Linked DNA regions of Homo sapiens: all the other regions are linked to region 3. The links are contacts of gene promoters, found by promoter capture Hi-C in blood cells and fetal thymus (Javierre and others, 2016). All regions are on one chromosome and are shown on one strand. The core of a region is centred on a gene start or on the middle of the fragment in contact, and the rest is flanking DNA. Distances in the headings are between cores, read along the strand shown.

Evidence for each region. Contacts are between HindIII fragments. The CHiCAGO score rates a contact against its expected background, and 5 or more counts as called.
Region 1: a contact is called between a fragment that was not itself captured here and the fragment with the promoter of GJA5 in region 3, in 4 of 17 cell types (total CD8 T cells, total B cells, total CD4 T cells and 1 more). The highest score is 6.6, in total CD8 T cells.
Region 2: a contact is called between a fragment that was not itself captured here and the fragment with the promoter of GJA5 in region 3, in 4 of 17 cell types (megakaryocytes, endothelial precursors, naive B cells and 1 more). The highest score is 7.9, in megakaryocytes.
Region 4: a contact is called between a fragment that was not itself captured here and the fragment with the promoter of GJA5 in region 3, in 1 of 17 cell types (total B cells). The highest score is 5.7, in total B cells.

The regions. Positions count from the first base shown.
Region 1 is chr1:147,509,653-147,515,184 of GRCh38, forward strand. LINC00624 (long intergenic non-protein coding RNA 624) reads right to left here. Exons shown (of 4, transcript NR_038423.2): 3 at 4,686-4,796. Among named protein-coding and RNA genes, the nearest start is that of LINC00624, 5.5 kb to the right of the region's middle. RefSeq lists an enhancer at 409-1,067. The HindIII fragment of the contact is 1,663 bases long and covers 673-2,335 here.
Region 2 is chr1:147,886,333-147,891,342 of GRCh38, forward strand. No RefSeq gene overlaps it. Among named protein-coding and RNA genes, the nearest start is that of GJA8, 14 kb to the right of the region's middle. The HindIII fragment of the contact is 7,221 bases long and covers 1-5,010 here.
Region 3 is chr1:147,759,117-147,764,418 of GRCh38, forward strand. GJA5 (gap junction protein alpha 5) reads right to left here and starts at 1,486. Exons shown (of 2, transcript NM_181703.4): 1 at 1,383-1,486; 2 at 1-155. The coding sequence starts at 122. All of the region lies in intron 1 of LOC102723321 (a long non-coding RNA gene), which reads left to right. The HindIII fragment of the contact is 9,872 bases long and covers 1-5,302 here.
Region 4 is chr1:147,527,781-147,533,461 of GRCh38, forward strand. No RefSeq gene overlaps it. Among named protein-coding and RNA genes, the nearest start is that of BCL9, 11 kb to the right of the region's middle. The HindIII fragment of the contact is 153 bases long and covers 1,277-1,429 here.

The sequences.
Region 1 (5,532 bases), core at 254-2,753, 250 kb before region 3:
CACCTCTTTCTACCACACACCCCCATCCTCAGCCCAACACAGCATTGCTTACAAAACACTCAAGGTGCTAAACTTACCTGCACCTTTGTGTGTTTTTACTGCGTAATTTAAGGAAGTGACAGAACTGTCATAATGTGTGAGTTTAAGTCTCTGAGTTTTAAATTCAACACAAAAGTAAAACAAGGGGCTCATGAAGATGAGAAAGGTAGCAGACATATTTCATAATTTTTCAAGATATTACTCCTGGAGCCTTATGTTTTTTTCCTCCCGAAATCCTTGCATAACAACTAGACAGAATGATGAGCAGTGGCACCTTGGAAGGCAGCCAGTCTCACAGTATTAGAGAGATAATACAATTTTAGAACTGGAGGGGACCTCAGACCTGATTTAGTCCAACATTCTCATGTTAAGATTAGGACAGTGGGGCCCAGGGAAGTGTTGTGATTTGCTCAAGGTCGCATAGGGGATTTGGTGGAGCAAAAGCCCTCTGGGCATGCAAGGCCATACTATCCAGATTCAGGCAGGGCTTGACTGGCAGCAACGGGGCCTGTGCAGAGAGCCAGAAAGAGGCAGTGATAAAGAAAGTGAGGCTGCAGGGTGCCTGGGGAAAAGAAGCCGGGAAGGATCACAGAGGAAGATGCCTTTGAAGCACAATTTCAAACTAAGTGGTCAAGCTTGCAACATTTGGAGCATGAGGGTTACCAGATGGGCCTGGGATGGGCAGCAATCAGGCACTGGGGGATTCAATGGGAGTCAAGGCAACCAGAAGAAGCTGAGTCAAAGAGACTGATGTGCAAACCACATATGGCTCTCCATATAGTAGCTACAGCTGCAAACCCAAGGTCAGTGTTTAGATTTACAGGTGTGTGGATAAGACTTTTGGTCAGGGCCGGGTGCAGTGGCTCATGCCTGTAATCCCAGCACTTTGGGAGGCTGAGGCAGGTGGATCACGAGGTCAGGAGATCAAAACCATCCTGGCTAACACAGTGAAACCCCGTCTCTACTAATAATACAAAAAATTAGCCTGGCGTGGTGTCGGGTGTCTGTAGTCCCAGCTAGTCGGGAGGCTGAGGCAGGAGAATGGTGTGAACCCGGGAGGCGGAGCTTGCAGTGAGCCGAGATCATACCACTGCACCCCAGCCTGGGTGACAGAGCGAGACTCCATCTCAAAAAAAAAAAATGACTTTTGGTCAGCATCAGTCACCTCAGCCAGGTCCCTGAATCACAGCCAAGCCTAGATGAGTGGTATTATTGACCATGATAATGGGAGGATGAATGGTGGCTATGACTGCCTGCTGCAATCAACCTTTAGGATGGCCAGAAATTCTGATTTGGCCAGCCCTTGGCCCAGACAGCAATGTCCCCAAGACACAGTGATCACTGTGAACAGAAGCAGCTTCCATGACAAAGGCCACATACACAGCCCTGTGATCGAGGAGACCACTTTGTCATGGGTCAGAGCTCAGGTTAAGATAGACCTTTGGGGGTGTGGGGAATGGAGACAGTGAGGAGAGCACAGAGCTGCAGAGTGGAGAGAACTGAATTGACTATTTTCAAATCTTATGGATTCAGAAGCTGTCGATGGAGCAGTAGCAAAACATTCGTGCCACTGATACTAAAATGGCAAATCTCTCAACAACTTTATTGCCAGTATATTCAGAAGGTTTTGTCAGAAATCTTGAGTAAGTGACTTAACTTTGCTGTGTGTCAGGCTAAATCAATGCAATGCAAAAACATCTGGATGAAAATGAAGCATCTCTGTCAGTTGTCTGGGTGTTTTGTCTACCTGACATCAAACAGCTGGATTCTTGTAAACATTTCGATGATGCACTAAATTTTTCATTTTTCACTCAGATCACAAAATCATAGACTCTCCAGCTTGACAGGAACTTAAAGGTCATCTAATCCCTGATATTTGGCATAGCCTCAAATGACCTATTTTGTATTATCACGCAAATCAAACACTAAGATAGGGGTATGTGTTCTGTCTAATTACACACATTGTATCTTATTTAAAAACATGTTTAACATTTGGTTCTCCTTGGCTGTTTAATTGAATTGTAAATGAATCATTTACAGGGGAAACTAGATTATTATATGTATAAAAATACAATGAAATCCTGTAATTAGGCCAGACCTGATCTACAAAAAAAGAAAAAAAACTGCAGGTGTGTAAATGCTTGTGAACTTTGGTGCTATGTTCAACACAAAGCCAAGAGGCTATGTGAGTTACCGTCACTCATAGAACTACCTGCTTAGTTTCACAAGGAGAGCAGTTTGCAAAGAAGTTTGCTTTAGCTCTTTTTCACTTCTTACTTATTCCTGCCATTTAACAAGCTTACACCAGGTGTCTGTTTCTAGACTGAGACAAGCAAAGTAAGGGCAAAGGACTGTGAAATTCATTAACTCCAGAGATCTGTTTCAGCATCTGAATCTTTCTCATCCAGATGGCCAAGGCTTCATCCCACCCCAACCCCCTTTCATATTCAGAGAGTTCCTTTAAAAACATTCACCCAATCACAGCTTCATAGAGAAGACAGCTAAGGAAGCTTTCTTACCCATAGATTGAGCTCCTGGTCTAAAGTATGTGTTTAATTTCCCTGAAAGTCTGCACAGAGTTTTTCATTTTTTACAAATTGTTCTTTGAGCTATTGTCTCATTTATACTAGTAGGCAGCATAGAAATGGGGACAGCCAAATTAAGATATAGGAGCAAATAGGGAGTATTTTCCAAAACTAGATAATGTGTGCATGCTGAGTGAAAAAAAAAATGGTAATCTGGGGAGAAAAAGTTAGAAGGTCCAGAAAAAGGAAGAAAGGGTGAAATGAGGTGATGAGTCAATGAGGCAGGGAGATCTATGAAGACTGTTCTGGATGGCAGGAGATGTAGAAAAGAAGGTTCTTACATTTGCAGTGATGAAAGCTTATAATGGGCAAGGGGGAGGCATAGTAAATCAGTCAGCCAGCCAGCAGCATGTGCTGGGTGCCCACAGTGTACAGAGCATTCTTGATACTAATAACTGCAGGGCGTTATCGAGGTTGTAAAAGACCTTCCAAGATGAGCTTGAAAACTAGTGGAGGAGAACATCACAGAAAAACCACACCTCACTAAACTTCAGAGGAAACCAGAATCATATTGAATAATGAAGATGGCTATTACCTAAGCAGGCATCAATACAGCCACATGCACAAAAAATAATTCAAGCAATCTAGCTAGTATAGATTTAATATATATGTATGTCAGAGTTAACATTTATGGAGTGCTTACTATGCAGCAGACATTGTATTAAGCACTTTATACACATTACATCTTTTATATGGGAGATGTGGACAAGCCTAGAAAATCTAAACATGTAATGGGTCTGTTCATTTTGGTATGAAATGAAATAGATGAAAGGATATGGGTAAAGATGTAAACACGGACTCCAGCATTTAAGGATTTGACATAACTAGCTATGACTATTCATGGGCAACCCTTAAAGTAAAGGGGTTAAGTTGTAATTTTCTCAGATTTGGATTGACTTATGGTGGGCAATGACTCTCCTTCAGCTTTGGGTAGAGAATTGTTCACTACCACTGTCTACATCTCTGTACACCTTGATTGTTCTATGTGTTTCATTGAGTTTGTCTTTTTTTTTTTTTTTTTGAGACGGAGTTTCACTCTTGTCGCCCAGGCTGGAGTGCAGTGGCGTTATCTCGGCTAACTGCAAGCTCCACCTCCCAGGTTCAAGTGATTCTCCTGCCACAGCCTCCCCAGTAGCTGGGATTACAGGTGCCCGCCACCATGCCTGGCTAATTTTTTATATGTTTAGTAGAGACGGGGTTTCGCCATGTTGGGTAGGCTAATCTCAAACTCCTGACCTCAGGTGATCCGCCCGCCTCGGCCTCCCAAAGTGCTGGGATTACAGGCATCAGCCACCACACCCGGCCAAGTTTGTCATCATTCTTTTGAAGTTATGCTTTTCTGAATTATAGGGGGACAGTATAAACTATTGTTTAACCAAGAGTTTAAAGATTTGCAAATGTCTTCAGAAGTATAAATATTCACAAAGGGAAAGTGTCTCCTGACTTTAGAGAAATGTAGAAGTACCCCACTGGGTATGAGTAAGTTCTCCAGAGTCTCTCTTTAACCTAGCTCTAGGGTAGGATAGAGGTGGAGCCAGAAGGGTCTGTGTCTGCAGTTTTGACAGTGTTACCCTTCTTCAGCCTCCTGCACAGTGAGTGACCTCCAAGGATTATTCAGGGTTTGGGAACAGAGAATTGTAAAATATTTTAGATGGGCCAACCTTTTCTCAAAATCCTCTTCAAAGGAAAATTAGCCTCTTCCTCACCATTGCCTTCTGTGCTGAGGAAGAGGACCTGCTGCTCCTTGAAGGAGGGTGGCCATTTCGATACCACAAGAGCCTACTCTGCCCTTTGACTGGATGCCTGGCCAACTCCTGACATTAAGGCAGCAAGCAATCCCAGTACTGCACAAAGTTCTGCAGCAACAGAAGTGATGATTAAATAGGGCAATGGGTTCTCTTGGGAATACGAACTGGGAAATTCCAAAAATCAATCAGTATCATGAGAAACATCAGGAAGAACACAGAAGAGCAGCCCAGGCATGCTCGTGGTGAACAGCACAGAGATGAAGGGCCACCTCAGTGTTAGATCCTTCCAGTGTCCATATGACATTTCACTCACCAGGATGCCACTGGTGCCAGATGCTCCTGTGATGTGCCTCTCTCTCTCATCGCCACAGGTATGCTGCAGTAAGCCCCCACTGACTAAGGTAGCCTGAGGGAGTGTCAGCTCCTGGAAAACAAAAAATCACCATACTGTCAGAGCTGGTCACTTAGTCAGTGCTACTCAAAGTGTGGTCCAAGGACCAGTGGAATCCACCACTGTTCCAGTGTGCAGAAACAAAGCATAGAAACAAAATATGCATTTGGAAATCTTTAAATAGGAATTTGACCTTGCCCCAGCATCCAATTTTATGTCTGTTAAATCTAATAATAAAAAGTTGAGCTTGCATTTCATAAGTCTATGGGAGTTTTTTCATTTCATTTTTCTAATAATTTATTTTTATTGTGTTTTACAAAAGCATCAGTCAGTATGTGAAGGACTGAAAACTGTCAAATATTTAAAAACTGGTGCTTCACAACAGACAGTTTGAGGAGCACTGATCTAGTCCCGTTTACAAACTGTGAATCCTTGACCCATTCGTGGGTAGTAACCCATTAAGGAGTCACGAAATTAATTTGTGTGGATACCAGCATTAACAAAGAATAGAATAAAAAGTATCAGGGTACATTGCATGAATACAGGATTAAGTTCTTTTTTGTGAAATTTTTATTTTAAAAAGCATATGCAAATACATATGCACATACACACTTGTATATTTTTGCATGTATATAAAACAGAAAAAGGAACCTGGGATGCCCATGTTTTATTGTAAAAGATACTTCTGCTTTTCTAACAGTTGTAAGGAAAATGTCTGCACATATTTGGAAAACTATGTGTTGTCCATCACACACCCTTCTGCTATCTT
Region 2 (5,010 bases), core at 1,152-3,651, 130 kb after region 3:
TTATAATGTACATTTAATAAGTTATGACTATTTTAAAAGGGATCTTCAAGTTTTGTAATAATGTTGGTGTTCACATCTGCATATGCCTAACTGTTAGCATAGAACTGGTGAATGAGAAATGCATTGTGTCAATTCCTGAAAGTATGAGTGATGGACAGTAGCAGACCTTTCTGCTCATAATTTTGGTCAAGAAGTTGTGCTTTCTTATTTTTTTGTGAGATTTCCAACCAAAATAGATGATGAACTCATAAATATGAACTGGTCTCTGTGCTCCAGCAACTGATAGAAGCATTTCTCAACCTATTCCCACCCACTCCTGGGCCTTTCCCACTCACCAGGTAGAATTTTGAGAAAGAAATTGGCCTCCTTCAAGAGAGAAAGTTCAGGCAGAAACAGCACCCCAGGCATTACACAGGAGCAATCTTGTGCCCATTCAGAGACTAACCACAATCCAGATGAATCCAGACAAAGCCTTAGTTAGCACTTCACAGTTTTCAAAGGGCTTTCATATTTCTCACCTCCTGGGCAAGGCCAACTCTTCATTATACCCATATTTAGCACTCTGTATATGTCTTCATTGTGATGACGATGATGACTTTTTTTTTTTTTTTTTTTTTTGAGACAGAGTCTCACTCTGTTGCCCAGGCTGGAGTGCAATGGCACGATCTTGGCTCACTGCAACCTCTGCCTCCTGGGTTCAAGTGATTCTCCTGCCTCAGCCTCCCACGTAGCTGGGATTACATTCACTGGCCGTCATGCCTGGCTAATTTTTGTATTTTGTAGAGAAGGGGTTTCACCATGTCGGCCAAGGTGGTCTTGAACTCCTGACCTCAGGTGATCTGCCCACCTCAGCCTCCCAAAGTGCTGGGATTACAGGCATGAGCCACCACGCCTGGCCCATTGTGATGATTATTAATTAGATGATAATGATTGCTCACGTGTATTATTTCTTCAGTGTCTATCTCCAGGAGGACAAGGACCATGTCTAACTAGTTCAGCATTGTATTTCCAGCTCCTAGCCCAGTGCCTGGCACGTAGTAGGTACTCAATAAATATTTGTTGAATGAAAAGAAGCTGTAGCATTCATATGCCCATCACTCTCTAATGAAATATTTACAATTGAGCTAACAGGTCTAGTTCAAAAATTTATCTACTGCCAAAACAAATATCATGACATTTTTCAGAGTCAAAAGCAAATCTCTTTTTGGCTAATCCAGGTTACTACTTCATAGATAATCAGAAAAGGACTACAGACACCCCTAACCCTCACTGCTAATGAATCATCTTCCCATTTAAGAAGTTAGCGGACTATTTTCTTTCCAGTTTCATGTCATCAGTTTTACTTAAACAGTTGTCAACCCTAATGGGTTGTTTCTCCAAATTAATTCTTCTTGCTTTTTTAGGAAGATTTATAGCACATCACCCTCATTCTGATCTTTTTATTGTCCAAGATTCTCCTCCTATAAGATAACCATATGATTTAGAGACTGGCTTAAATGGCCCAGGACCTAGAATTCATAATATATATTTTTCAAATTTTAGGAAAATTTCAGATTTTTCCTGACTACTCTCTCCTGATTCCTACCCACAATGATTTCTTTTTTCTTTTCTTAAAATTTTCTTGTTGGAGACTCTAAAAATAAATAATCAGAGAGGTGCTGTATTCCTGGTGTTACCCCAGATTCACTGCAGCTGTGACGAAGGCTGCCAACACCGTCTAATGACACATTAAATACACTGTCTATGACTTGTCCTGTCAGGCAGAGCCAAAAGCTACTTTGATTAATTTTTATTTTTAAATGCAACTGCCATGTGGATATAGATCCTGCTTTTGTGACCTTTGGGCAGGGCACGTAATCTGTCTCTTTCACCTACTCTTCTACCTGCAAAATTGGTTTGACAATAAAATCTTTCTTTCTAAACTGATATGTAGTAAAAGATAAACTATACAGGAGCACTAGTGAAAAGATGCCATGCAAGTGCCTCAAAGTGATCTGTTTTCTGGACTCTCTGTGGCACATCTTGCATCTCTAACCAGTCTCCCTCAGCCATGTTCTAAGCCCCAGCCCCAGCATTAACCAGTTGTACAAGTAACAAATACAGATTCACCTTACTGCAAACTAAGTCAAATAAGAAAATAATTCTCCTGCTAACTAAAACACGCATCTTAGTATTCTAGAGCAAAATGCAGGTAACTTTTGGATAATCCAAACCACAGCTTTATAGGCAGTGATGACCAGCCTTCTTTGAGTACTCAGCATATGCCAAGAACTGTTTTCAGTGCACTGCATACATTATCTATTCAGTCCTAAGTACCCTGTGACATAGCTGTGATTATTAAACTTCATTTTTAGCCAGGCATGGTGGCTCATGCCTATAATCCCCGTGCTTTGGGAGGCTGGGGTGGGAGGATCACTTGAGGCCAGGAGCCTGAGACCAACCTGGGCAACACAGCCAGACCTTGTCTCTACAGATTTTTTTTTTCTAATTAGCTGGGCATGGTGGCACATGCCTGTAGTCCTAGCTACTCAGAAGGCTGAAGCAGGAGGATCACCTGAGCCCAGGACTTCAAGGTTACAGTGAGCTATGATTGTGCCACTGCACTCCAGCCTGGATAACAGGAGAGAGGCCCTGTCTCAAATAAATAAATTGCATTTTACATCTGAGAAGACTGAGGCATATAGAAATCAAATGGTTTTCCTGAGCTCACACTGACGGTAAGTGGTAGAGCTCAGATTTGAGTCAGCTGGCTTAGCCTTTATACTCCACTGCATTTCAAGATAATGATAACAACCATTTATGTGCCAGCAATTGGGCCGAGTACTTTAACATAGATTATCTCATTAAGTTCTCATAATAATCATCTCCATCTACAGATGATAAAAATGAGATTTAAAAGGGTTAATTTGCCACCTATCACAGAGCTAGTAAGTGATAGATTCTGAGCCAGAATTATAGAATTATAGCCAGATTATAGAGACTGACAACAAAAATACTAAACCATGTTGTGAAAGCCAGTGATGGCTCTACCTACAGTCTTCCATGGAAGACTCCCTCATCGTTTACAAGGACATGAAAATGTGTTTGCTGGACCTAGTGGGGAGAGAAATTCCTCTGCACTCTCCACTCTAATGGGTTTACAGGTAGGCCAAGGGCAAAATGAACTCCTGAGTAGGAGCCTGGAGTCTTTGTTGATGCAAGCTGTACCAGTGGATTTCAATTAGCCAGGAGGCTTTTGGAGTGCAAGCCCAGGCCATGGACAACTCACAAGAGAGAAGGTCCCAAAAGCTCCCCAATTCTGCCCCTAGCAACAGAGGCTTCCTGTAGCCAAGTCTGTCTCTGATTTGCAGGTGGGTGAGTTAAATTCACACAATCTCAGCCATAACTCTTAGAATGGGTTCTCCATTGCCCTAACCAGAAAGGCCCCAGAATGTTTGTCTCCAGTGATCAAGGCCTGCCATCTGCTGAAGTTTTGCCCTTTGCTTTGTCATCACATGAACCTAATGCTCTACAATTTACTCTGCCCTTTATCATCAAATATTGCCCCTGGTACAATCAGGGATACAGTAGAATTGTGCAGGACCAAAGGAAATAAGGACAGGTCTGAGAGAAGGGAGGGGATAGAGCAAAGAATCTTGAAACCCTCGGGTTGGTGATTCTGGATTTGTGGTGCTGTGGGAGACAGGGCAAATATTTCCGTGATAAAAGGGACTTCTGAATAGGAAGAAAAGTAAGAGGAGAAAAAGAGGGATACCCTCTGGGGCATCCAGTGCCACCAGTATAATGATCACTAAACAGGGTGAAAGGGAAGGCACCAGGAAACCGGCCCAGAGAGTGTGGTTATACAGTAAAATTAAAGCCAAGGTTGTCCCCCTTTGCATTTCCTGTCCTCCCAGCCCCTCCCATTTAGACCATATCCATCTTTTCCCGTGTGGAAAAAAAGAGTTCACTTGACTCTCCTTTGCAGACTTGGAGTAAGCCTCTTTTCTTTGCCCTCAGGCTCTGAAGGCGTCTACTACAGTGCGTGGAGCAAAAGAGAGACGGCATCGCCCCCTCGTGGCGCAGGGCCAAGCTCTGCGGTATTCCGGACGCTGTCCTGGGCTGCCCAGACAGGGGCACCCCGTGGGAGTGGAAATGCTGTCCTCAGAACCTCTGGCTGTTGAATGACTTGTGTCTTGTCAGAATGGTGAGATCCCCGAATGCCATCACCCTGTTCCTTCTACCCTCCCCATTGATGTTCACACAGGTCAGCTAAGCTAGACCTGTCTGCAGTGTGTTTTGAAAACAGGTTGCCCCTGCAAGAAAACTCCTGGTTTAGTAAATCAGCACATCAGGGCTAGAGAAGAAAAGAGTTGTGCTGTCTTTGTTTCCATTTCAGTCCATTCTGCCAAGTTGAAGCAGAATGATTTTCATTCATCTTAAATCCCCCCAAAATATTTTTTTTAAATAAACCTCTCAAACCAAACACCATCACATATGTACCCTAAGGAATACTAAGTCACCTCTTCAGGCAACGGAAAGAAAGGACCAGAGAATTGCTGTCAAGCCTAGGGTGGGTGGAGGAGGCAGGGAATTAATTTTGTTGAGTGGATAAAGGTCTGGGCCTCAATCCCAAAAGCCCAGATTGGGGCATCGAGCCTACAGCACCCCTGTCAGTCACTCCCTGCTGTCCCTGGAGCCTGGGCAGGCAAACAGTCATCCTTCTGCACTGTCTCTCTGGGACAGCCGGAACCTTTGCCCCCATCCCGAGGTCACCCTCTCCCAGAACCTCCTCTGCCTCTGGTAAGAGGAGGTAAAAGGAAGGGGGACACAGGAGGTCCATCAGAGCATGGATGAAGCTGCCCCTACATCAGAGTGCAGAGCTTGGAGTCTAGCCCCATCCTGGCCAACACAGAAGCAGGGAGTGAGAGAGGCAAAAACGAGGAGCCAGCCTGTTTCCATAGATACAGATTTCAGTTGCATTTTATGACAGCCGTGCCAGGCTGCCTGGAGAGGCATTGTTTGGATGTC
Region 3 (5,302 bases), core at 236-2,735:
GCAGCTGTGCCCAGCACGAGCATACGGAATATGAAGAGGACAGTGAGCCAGACCTTGCCTACCACGGTCGAGTGCTTGTGTACTTCCTCCAGGAAATTTCCCAGGAAGCTCCAATCGCCCATCTTGGCACAGCCAGGGAACAGATGCCAAAACTTCTGCAAATGGGAGAGAGAGAAAGAGAGAAAAGAAGAAGGATGTTCTGTGAAGGTCTGGAATGTCTATCATGTTCTGGGATTCCACTGATCCATCCATCCAATGGGTTCTTTAAGAAAATGCAACTTAGAAGTCAAAGCAACCAACGAAAAGCTCGCTCTCCTTTCCCAGCAAAAATAAAAAGAAAGAGAAGATTCAAAGTAGCCATATTAGCAAAATTAGAGCATGGCTCCCACACTTTAACGGATCTAGAAATCGTGGTGTGTGTTACAATATGGATTCTGCTCTTGCCCCAGTAATTCTACTTCAGGAGGTCTGGGATGGCCCCCAGGAATCTGGATTTACAACAAGCAGCCCAAGTAATTCTGATGCAGGCGGTGAGGGACCGCACCTGGAGAAACACGAGTATTAAAAAGAACACAAGACTGGGGTCTGCAAATGTGACTCTGGGCATTTACCTCACTGAGTCTGTTTCTTCATTTATCGAATGGGGATGGGAATAGCTACACCAGAGAATTCTGAGGATTAAATGATATGAGGTGTGTGATATTCTGAAAATCATTCCACAACTGTTCCAAATGTTTAAATGGCTGTTGGATGGAAAAGGAATTTTTTTATGGCTCCAGAGGGCAGAACTAGGTGGAGGAGGAAAGAGTGAGGATGGGATTGGCAAATTTGGCCCCTCAGGAAGCACTCTGCAAAAATCAGAACCATCCAGCATGGACCAGCTGTGTTGGGAGGTGGCAAACAAAAAGTGTGCTTTGGTCACACCAGCTAACAGTATCACAGATGAGTGCTCACTTCCCCTGGCTGGTAAGGCAATGTTGATCTCCCATGCCTCGGTGCAACACAGCCATTCCAGCCACACAGCTCAGCTCGCCCTGCTGCTAAGTTTCTGTGTCTCATTTAAATAAGGTTCCCACACACAGATCTGCCCACCCTTATGTCCAGAATAAATGTCCCAAAACTTTATGTCCCTTACAAAATCCTCCCTCATCTGGCCTTTGTCTGCTTTTCCAGCCTGTTCCTGCCTGTCCACATGAGTTCCTTTTGTCCAGCCATGCCAAGTCTTCCCAAATGCCCTCCTTCTGTACCCCTACATGTCCCCTCACCCCTAGCTGAATCCCATTTACCTTTCAAAACTTAACCCAGTCATTGCCTCCTCCAGCCCTCCCTCCTCCCTCAAGCTGAGCCTCTTCAGCTCCTGTGATGGCCCCCGGGACACTTACTCGTCTCCCAGTGCTTGCTGCCTTGTGTTGTAATCCTCTGCCTGTCTGTGTTCTCCCAGGAGGGACTGTTTGAAAATGGAGACTGTCTTTTCTTCTGTATCACCAGAGCCTGGCCCAGAGTAGGTGTTTAATATATCTTAGTTGAGTGAATGAAGGAGGGGCTGACAGGCACTGTTGTTTCCTACCCAATAGAAAACCAATTCCCTGTTTCTTGCCTGCCTCCCATTGGCAGGGTGAAAAAGCCAGGTATCACTTTCTTAATCTCCTCTGCAGTTAGTTCTGGTAGGTGAGGTATGGGGAGAATCTAAAGTAGAGGGAATGCTCCAGAAAAGGTTTTTCTACCCCCCAGTAAATGGAGAGAGCCTCACTCACAGTGCTCCCATCCCCCTGTGAACAAGAGGGAACCTCACTCACAGTGCTCCCATCCCCTGGTGAACAGGAGGGAGACTACTCACAGTGCTCCCATCCCCCGGTGAATAGGAGTGAGCCTCACTTAGCCCCACCGCTTCCTGCCTGTGGACAGAGTTGTATGAACCAAGATGTCTAAAGCTGTCCAGAGAATCTCAGAAATGTCAACCAGTGCCCTGAGGCCTCTGAAGCAACTCTTGAGGCTCCCTACCTCCAGAATTCTTACTTAGTGAATAACGAATGTTCTTACAGTTTAAGCCTCTAACCATTCCTAACCAACAGGATGACAAACGTCTCGGAGGGAATGGAGCATAAATATTCCTTTCTTAGAATCATAAACCTCAGATTTGGGTGGGTCCTTAGAGGTTTGTCAAATTCAAACTTTGACCGTCATATCTTTGCTGCCAACGTGCTCCTGGTTTCTGTCTGAACATTCTTCATGCTTATGGGGAAAGATGGGGTCAGGGTGGTGCATTTCATAGTCCAGGCTTCCTCAGCTCTTGAGTTGATTGTTGCCTTGACAGGGACCAACCTCCTGGCCCTGTATTCTCTCAGACCCCAGGTCCCCAAACTTGAGAGTATACAGTGTCCCTGGGAATGAGGGAGTTCCTGAGTGAGCGGAAAGCATCTTATCTCTGCTCCTCTCTATATCAAAGACCCATGCAGGTCTTGAGGCCTTTCCTGTCATTTGTGATCAGACATCTGCCCCATTTCCTTAGGTGGCGAAGCGCCCCCTCTTTCAGCCTCCAAATGTGGAAAATTGTGGAGCATGTGCTCAAAAGGAAAATGGCTGATTAGATAAGAGTTTGAATTGTCTGTCCTCTCTTCTGGGCACATGTACAGTGTTCAGCACCTTCAGGGTCAGCCACACACGTGCAGTGACTGAACTATGGTAAATGTCTGAGAAAAAGAGGGAGGGAGAGAAGGGGAGGAATAAAAAGAAGAGAAGAAAAGGGAAGGACAAGGGAGAGTTGGAAATGGAGAAAAAGACCATGTAGGGTTAAGAAAAGACAGATGCAGGAGTTAGCTTACTGAGGTTTGACAAATTTCTATTACCATCTGCTGGGCTTAGATAAATGATTCAATCTGTGTTCCACTTTCCTCACCTGCAAAATGGACATACTATTAACTCATAGAGTGCTATGAGATGATGCGTGCAAAGCACTTAACACAGTGTTCAGCAAATAAGAACTGAATAAAAGGTAGCCATTACTAGCAACAAGAGCAGTGGGGAAGGATGAGAGTAGAAGAAGGAGGGAAAAAGAGAAAGCAGAAAGTAGAGAAAGGTGCATTACAAAGGAGAAAAGAAATGGGAGCAAGAGTAGAAGGGGAGGAAATGAGAGGAAAATGGAAATAGAAAAAAAAAGAAACAAATGTCATATTCTTCCAGGATTTGGGGCAAGTTTTCCACACTCAGTCCCTGAAGACTTCTCCCTTGATCTTCTCACTCTGTCACTCATTCCTTGCAAGTCCCCAAGGAAGTATAAAAATAGTTCCAGGCAAAGAATGTGACCCTTTGGTCTAGTCTGCCAAGAGGCTTGACTGCTGACTCCTTCACTGCTGTCCAAGGAATTCCACCTGGAAGAGGTAAAGCACAGATACAAGAAAGGAACACCTTGGAAAACCAGAAAGGCAGTATTAGGAAGGATATCTTATTGGGAGGGAAAAAGAGAAACTATCTGAGGAGGTATAGGGGTGAGGCAGACCTCCTGGGCCCAGGCAGAGGAAATAGGGTGAAGGGTTTTTCATGTATGACTTCCTGCTGACGCTCAGGCAAGGTCAGAGAAACTTAAAATAGCTACCATGTACCAGATGCTCAGTTTATAATGTGAAAGGTCTCTGGCTGTAGTTACTTTTCCAGCTACGTTGGCTCCCTTTGGATACCCCATCTCAGCCAAAGAAATTTGTAGATTAGATACTCAGTGAGTTTACTGGGCGTATAGCATATAAAATACTTTGTAGATTATTATCTGCTTCTTGGCAGGAAGTGTATTAGGAGGGGCAAAGGAAGCTGCCCATGCCATGAATAAATGCTATCAAACACAATGGCAATTTACCTCACTGCTTTAGCAGTTATCCTCACTGGCTTCCTACCACTTAGAAAGTCCAAACTGCTTAACTTGCCATGTGAAACCCTGTACAGTCTTATGCTATCATTTTTCCACTTTTCCACTCACACACTCAATACTTAAGCTACACAATTTCACATGTACTTATGTGCATCTCACCATTTCTCACCCATTTATCTTGGCTTCTTATGTTCCCTCTGCCTAGAATGTCCTTTTTAAAATTCATTTAATACGTTTATTGAGTGGCTACAGGGTGCCAGCCATCATTCTGGACAATGAGGATACAGCAGGAAGGAGGGGAAACAAACAAGGGATTCCCTGACTTCACTGAGTGTAACTGCCTTTATACCCCTTTATTAACAGCAGACATTAAATACATGATTTCAGTAAAACACAATGTGTGTTAACATAAAGGAAGTATAAGGTGTCATGGGAATGTGGGGCAGGAGCCTGAATCTGGTTTTTGGGTTTTGGGGAGAGTCCTAGGGAATTGCGTTCTAAAGCCCTCTGCCACTGATACAAGTTCTGAAATCAGCAAGGCAAAAAGAGATGGTCCCTAGAACCTGGAAGAGAACCATCCCAACTCTAAAGGTTCTTCACTCCCAAACCTTCAACATCCTCTTTCAACTTGTCCTATCCTGAGATAAAGCAAATTTTGGAGGGGCCACTAGGAAACTTGTTTGGCAATAGCAACATGGTGCTTAGATAAGAGGAAGAGGGCCAGAGGAAGGATTTTGTGTATAGTGAGCATGAATCATTTTATGATTTTATTTCATGTACTGTATGGCCAATGACCAGAAATAAAGCTCAGGCACCTACATTCTGAATCCAGTGCTTCTTTTTTTCTTTTTTGAGATGAAGTCTCGCTTTGTCACCCAGGCTGGAGTGCAGTGGCACCATCTCAGCTCACTGCAACCTCTGCCTCCCAGTTTCAAGCAATTCTCCCTGCCTTAGCCTCTGGAGTAGCTGGGATTACAGGTGTGTGCCACCACACCTGGTTAGTTTTTGTATTTTTAGTAGAGAAGGGGTTTCACCATGTTGGCCAGGCTGGTCTCAAATTCCTGACCTCAGTTGATCCTCCCGCCTTGGCCTCCCAAAGTGCTGGGATTACAGGCATGACCCACCATGCCCGGCCCAGTGCTCCTTCTCGTGGTCCCCCTACACGGCCAGTGTTTTTCAAAGAAAATCATTTCAGAGCAACCCAGATTAATCATAAACTCATAGCCAGAACCTCTTCCTCTGACTCCGCAAATCTACAGCAAAATGGATAAGTCTTCTAAAATTGACCTCAGCCCTCTTTGGTGTCCCCTGAACTCCAGAAGACTGAGCATCTGGTACATGGTAGCAATTTTAATTACCATCCAGCATGGAGGATACATCCTCACACTTGGTTATATATTTCCTTAGACTTGTTTTCCAAACATTTGTCTATCAGCCAACCTG
Region 4 (5,681 bases), core at 103-2,602, 230 kb before region 3:
GAGGCTCTGTCTTCAGAGAAGATCCCACTGGGAAACAAGTCTGCACCACCTTAAAGGATTCCTCTGGGCTTTGGAAGGGATTTCCCACAGAGAGCTGCTTCCAATCATAACACATTGAGCCTTCTGCAAGGTCCCTGTGTAACTTAACTGTAGAGGCACAGTAGAAAGCCCACTCCAAAAACCATCCTCTGTTCCTGCCTAATGAATCCCTGGTATACGCTGTCAGAATTTAAGAGGCAGGTGTCGCTCCCCTGACGCTTTGAATAGGAACTTGTTCAAATCGTGTATCCTCTCTAGGAACAGTTTTTCAAGAGTGGTTTATAATTTTTCATCTGCAGCAGTAGTGAGGGGGTGGATTCAGAGGAAGAAGGAGGAAGTACTGACGGGGGAGGCAGGAAAAGAAATGCCATCCTGGATCAGAGCTGTGAACGTCAAAGGAGAGGGGTGATCCTCACCTCTGGAGATGAGAGACTGGAAGAGAATGCCTGTGAAGGTAAAGGAAAGAAAGAACTTAGATGTGGTAGGTGGAGCCTTCTCTATGGAGAGACACAGAAGAGGTTTCTATTTCCCCAGATGATAGCTAGTAGTCAAGGCTTCCTGCCCTCACCATCATCCTCTGCAGGCATCTCCACGTCAACCAGGCCAGGCCGCTCCTCTTTCTGCCCCACTCAGCACCCTCCCTCCACCTTTTCTCTAGCTTATGCAACCCAATATCTATACATTTGTTCATCTGGTTTACTCTTTCTTGATCACTCTCTACCCTTTGCTCTACTCCACTGATCAGAATCAAATTTAAGTGCCAAATGCCCTATAAGTCTGACCTGAAACTCCAGCCTACAGTGGTTCTTATTGCCTGTACCAGCAGTTCTCAAACCCTAGCATGCATCAGAATCACTCAGGGGGCATTTGAAAACACAGGTTTCCAGGACTCTCAGAGTTTCTGATTCAGTAGGTCTGGGCCACGGCCTGAGAATTTACCTTGCTAACAAGTTCCCAAATGACTCTTGCTGATGCTTCTTGTTTGGGAACCACTAACCTGTACCATTCGTTTAGCCTTAATCATGCACTGCCCTGTGCTGATACTGTAACTGAGTATCCAGATGCAGCTGTGAACATATCAAAGGCAGTTATGTTGTAGGTACTGGGCTGTATCTCCCACAGGACTTAGCTAGCATACTCAGAGCAGGTACCCAAACCCAATATAATTTATTAATTGTTGTGAAAACTTAGTATTGGTTTTAGGTAAAATTAGGAAGACAGTAGATTGTCCACAGGAAGCTTCCACTTTCCCTCCTTCATTTCTCAACCAACTTCTGTGTCACTCACTCTTCCTCCTCCAAGCGACCCAGGCTCCCCTAAACATAGGCTTGTCCTAAATACCCAGAGCTCTCCCATTTGCCCCTCAAAGTTTACAGGCAAATCTCAGAGAAGCTTGACTGAGGCCGGACGTGGTGGCTTATGCCTGTAACCCCAGCACTTTGGGAGGCCGAGGCGGGTAGATCATAAGGTCAGGAGTCCAAGAGCAGCCTGGCCAACATGGTGAAACCTCATCTCTACTAAAAATACAAAAAAATTAGCTGGGCATGGTGGCGGGCACCTGTAGTCGCAGCTACTTGGGAGGTTGAGGCAGGAGAACCACTTGAATCAGGAGGGGGAGGTTGCAGTGAGCCGACATTGCACCACTGCACTCCAGCCTGGGCGACAGACCAAGAATCTGTCTCAAAAAAAAAGAAAAAAAGAAGCTTGACTGAGAAGTTAAGAGACAGCTGAGTGTATGAGCTTATTTAAATACTGATGGAGAGAGGCGCGCAGTGGTGCCAGTGTGGGAAAGAGAGGGAATAATGGCAGGTGGGATCCACAGTGCAAGGAGAAGGATTCGCTTAGACAGGAGCAGGGACACCTCTCCCACTGTAGATGGAAAAAGGAAAAGATAGGTTTAGATGCAAGAATAATGAGGCTTTAGATGCTAGGTGACTCCCAGCTCTAACATCTTGTGATTCCATGAAATTAAATTGCCACGGTGTCAGTGGCTTAATATGTCACCTCTCCCTGGCAGAGCTTTAACCCAAGGAAATGAATGTTTCATGAGAGGCTCTTAGGCTATGGGAGGCCTGCCAGTGGGACAGCAGGGCCTTCCCAGTGGTCTTGAATACCTGTTGCCCTGCTAGGCAAGGTGGGATTGGGAAAATGGGATAAATATATCCAACTGTGACAACGTAAGAACTACAGCAAGGCCACAGAGCTAATACATTCTGGAACCAGATTTAGAACTCTGTGTCACTCAAGCCCGCAGTCATCTGGTCCACCCAGTCATATTCTGACCACCTGAAATTGCAAGGGAGGGCTGGAAGTATTAGGAACAACTTCTTCCTAACCCTTGGGCTAGAGACTTGAGATGACATGCTCCATCCCAGATCCACACAGCCCCAGCCTATCTCTGGGGCTCTAAGAAACACCTGATAGTGACAGGAATAATAACAACAATAATAATTTATCTAATGCCTCCTCAATTAAACTAGCATGTAAGGTGCCTGGTACATTGTGCCAAAATCTGGATCATAGGAAGAAGTCAACAAATGTAAGCTGTCATCCTCCTCCTCCTCCTCTTTCTCATTATCACCACCTTCACTGTGTGCCAGTAACCATATTAGGTATTTTTAAGTATATTTTTTCCTGATTACAAAAGTAACCAGTGTTTAAAAATTCTAACAAGAAATGCATAATATAAAAAGTCCAAGTGTGGTGCACTAGAAAGAGAGGAAGCACATAAAATAGTTACTGACCCATTCCCTATATTAATAGTTACTGACCCATGCCCTATATTCAGTCACTTAAAAGCACAGCAGACTGTCTATGTTTACTTTCTGGTTCTTCTAATACTCACTGGGTGGTCTTATTTAACTTTTCTGTGCCTCAGTTTTCTTATTTGTTAAAAGAGAGCAATGATAGTTCTAACATCTAGAGTTCTTGGGAAATTTAAATAAGATGCGATACACATAAGGCAATGAACACAGTGCTCTGCACATAGTAAGCAGTCCATATAAAGTGGTTATTATTTATATTATTTTTTAATAAATAAAATTCTCCAAGATCCACATGTCAGAAGTAACCCATATTGGCCAGGCGTGGTGGCTCATGCCTGTAATCCCAGCACTTTGGGAGGCTGAGGCGGGTGGATCACTTGAGGTCAGGAGTTCAAGACCAGCCTGACCAACATGGCAAAACCCTGTCTCTACTAAAAATACAAAAATTAGCCGGGCATGGTGGCATGCGCCTGTAGTCCCAGCTACCTGGGAGGCTGAGGCAGGAGAATCGCTTGAACCTGGGAGGTGGAGGTTGCAGTGAGTCAAGACTGTGTCATTGCACTCCAGCCTGGGTGACTGAATGAGACTCCATCTACAAAAAAAAAAAAAAAGAAAGAAAAAAGAAATAATCCATATTGATAGCTTATTGCATACTTTTCAGACTAGATATATGTATATCTATATATACATTCTATGAGATCCAAAACATATACACTATTTTACATGTCTTTACTCATTTGACAAATAATTGTTGGATGATCTTTTTTTTTTTTTTTTTTTTGTAGATGGAGTTTCTCTCTTGTTGCCCAGGCTGCAGTGCAGTGGCGCGATCTCAGCTCACTGCAACCTCCACCTCCCAGGTTCAAGCGATTCTCCTGCCTCAGCCTCCCTAGTAGCTGGGATTACAGGCATGTGCCACCACGCCCAGCTAATTTTGTATTTTTAGTAGAGACGGGATTTCTCCATGTTGGTCAGGCTGGTCTCGAACTCCCGACCTCAGGTGATCCACCTGCCTCGGCCTCCCAAAGTGCTGGGATTACAGGCGTGAGCCACCGCGCCCAGCAAATATTATGGATGATTCTTAAAATAATCTTACAAAGTACTTATTGATACATGGTTTTGTTTCTATTATATTTCTTCTAAGGTTGCATCTCCACCTCCCAAATGTTCAGAGGAAACCTCTGAATGGGTGGATGGGTCAGCAACCTTTTTTTCTTTTTGAGACTGAGTTTCACTCTTGTCACCCAGGCTGGAGTGCAATGGTGCGATCTCGACTCACTGCAACCTCCATCTCCCGGGTTCAAGCAATTCTCCTGCCTCAGCCTCCTGAGTAGCTGGGATTACAGGCACCCACCACCACGCCTGGCAAATTTTTTGTACTTTTAGTAGAGACGGGGTTTCACCATGTTGGCCAGGTTGGTCTCGAACTCCTGACCTCAGGTGATCCACCTGCCTCGGCCTCTCAAAGTGCTGGGATAACAGGCGTGAGCCACTGAGCCCAGCCAGGTCAGCAACCTTTTTTATGTGAAGGACCAGACAAAAACAGTTTAAGCTTTGCAGACCATACGGTCTCCGTTGCAGCTACTTAATGCTGTGGTTGTAGTGCAAAAGCAACCATAGACAATATGTGAATAAATGAGAGTGGCCATGTTCCAATAAAACTTTTTTTTTTGAGACAAGGTCTTACTCTGTTGTCAAGTACAGTCGTGCCATCATAGCTCCCTGTAACCTGGAACTCCTGGGCTCAAACCATCCTCTTGCCTCAGCCTCCTGAGTAGCTGGGACTACAGGCATGCACCACCATGCCTGGCTAATTTTTAATTTTTTTGTAGAAATGAGGTCTTACTATGTTGCCCAGGCTGGTCTTGAACTCCTAGCTTCAAGTGATCCTCCCACCTCTGCCTACCAAAACGTTGGGATTACAGGTGTCAGCCACCATGCCCAACCCCAATACAACTTTATGGAGATTGATATTTGAATTTCCTATAATTTTCAGGTGCCATGAAATATTCTTTTAATTTTTTTCCAACCACTATTTAAAAATGTAATAACCATTCTGAGCTTGCTGTACTGTGTAAAAACAGGTGGCTGGCTGGATTTGGCCTGTAGGTCACAGGGAGCAAACTAGCTTGCCATTCTGGAGCCAGGTTGAAGATTAGAGGGGCAATGAAGCGTAGAAGTAACATCTTAATATAACCTCCGTCCCTTTTCAGTGAGAAGCGCCTTTTCCTCTTCTTGAGATGCACGATCCCACCACACCTGTTAAAATCCCCCTGAAGAATTAAAAGTTGCTGCCTCCTCAGAGTCCTCTCAGCACTTCTTTATAGTATATACTAAACACTGGGTGTCCCCCATACCAAAATTCCTATGAAGCCTCAAACTCCTTGCGTGTTCAATTTACTGCTGTTCATCCAGAACTAGCACAGTGCTTGGCAACTGAGAAGGGTTGGGTTGAACCACAAAGCTTCACTTTCACTCTATTGGTGCAAGCAAAAGGAATCCATTAGAACCAGTCTAGGGGGAGGGAGAAAGGGGAATCATTTAGAACTAGGAACATCTTAGTGTGCCTAAATTCAGGAAACCTCCACCAGGGCTTCGGGCTTCATTCTGTCTCTCTCTCTCTCTCTCTCTCTCTCTCTCTCTCTCTCTCTCTCTCTCTCTCTCTGGCTTGGGCCACATGGATTCTTATCTCTTTGTCTCTGAGTGGGTCTATTTCTTTTTTTTTTTCCTCATCAGTTTTATCAGTTCAAGAACTAATAGAGATCAACTAGCTTCCGTGAACCCTACTTTTAAATATCTGGGAGAAGGCCAGGCACCGTGACTCATGCCTGTAATCCCAGCACTTAGGGAGGCCGAGGTGGGTAGATCTCCTGAGGT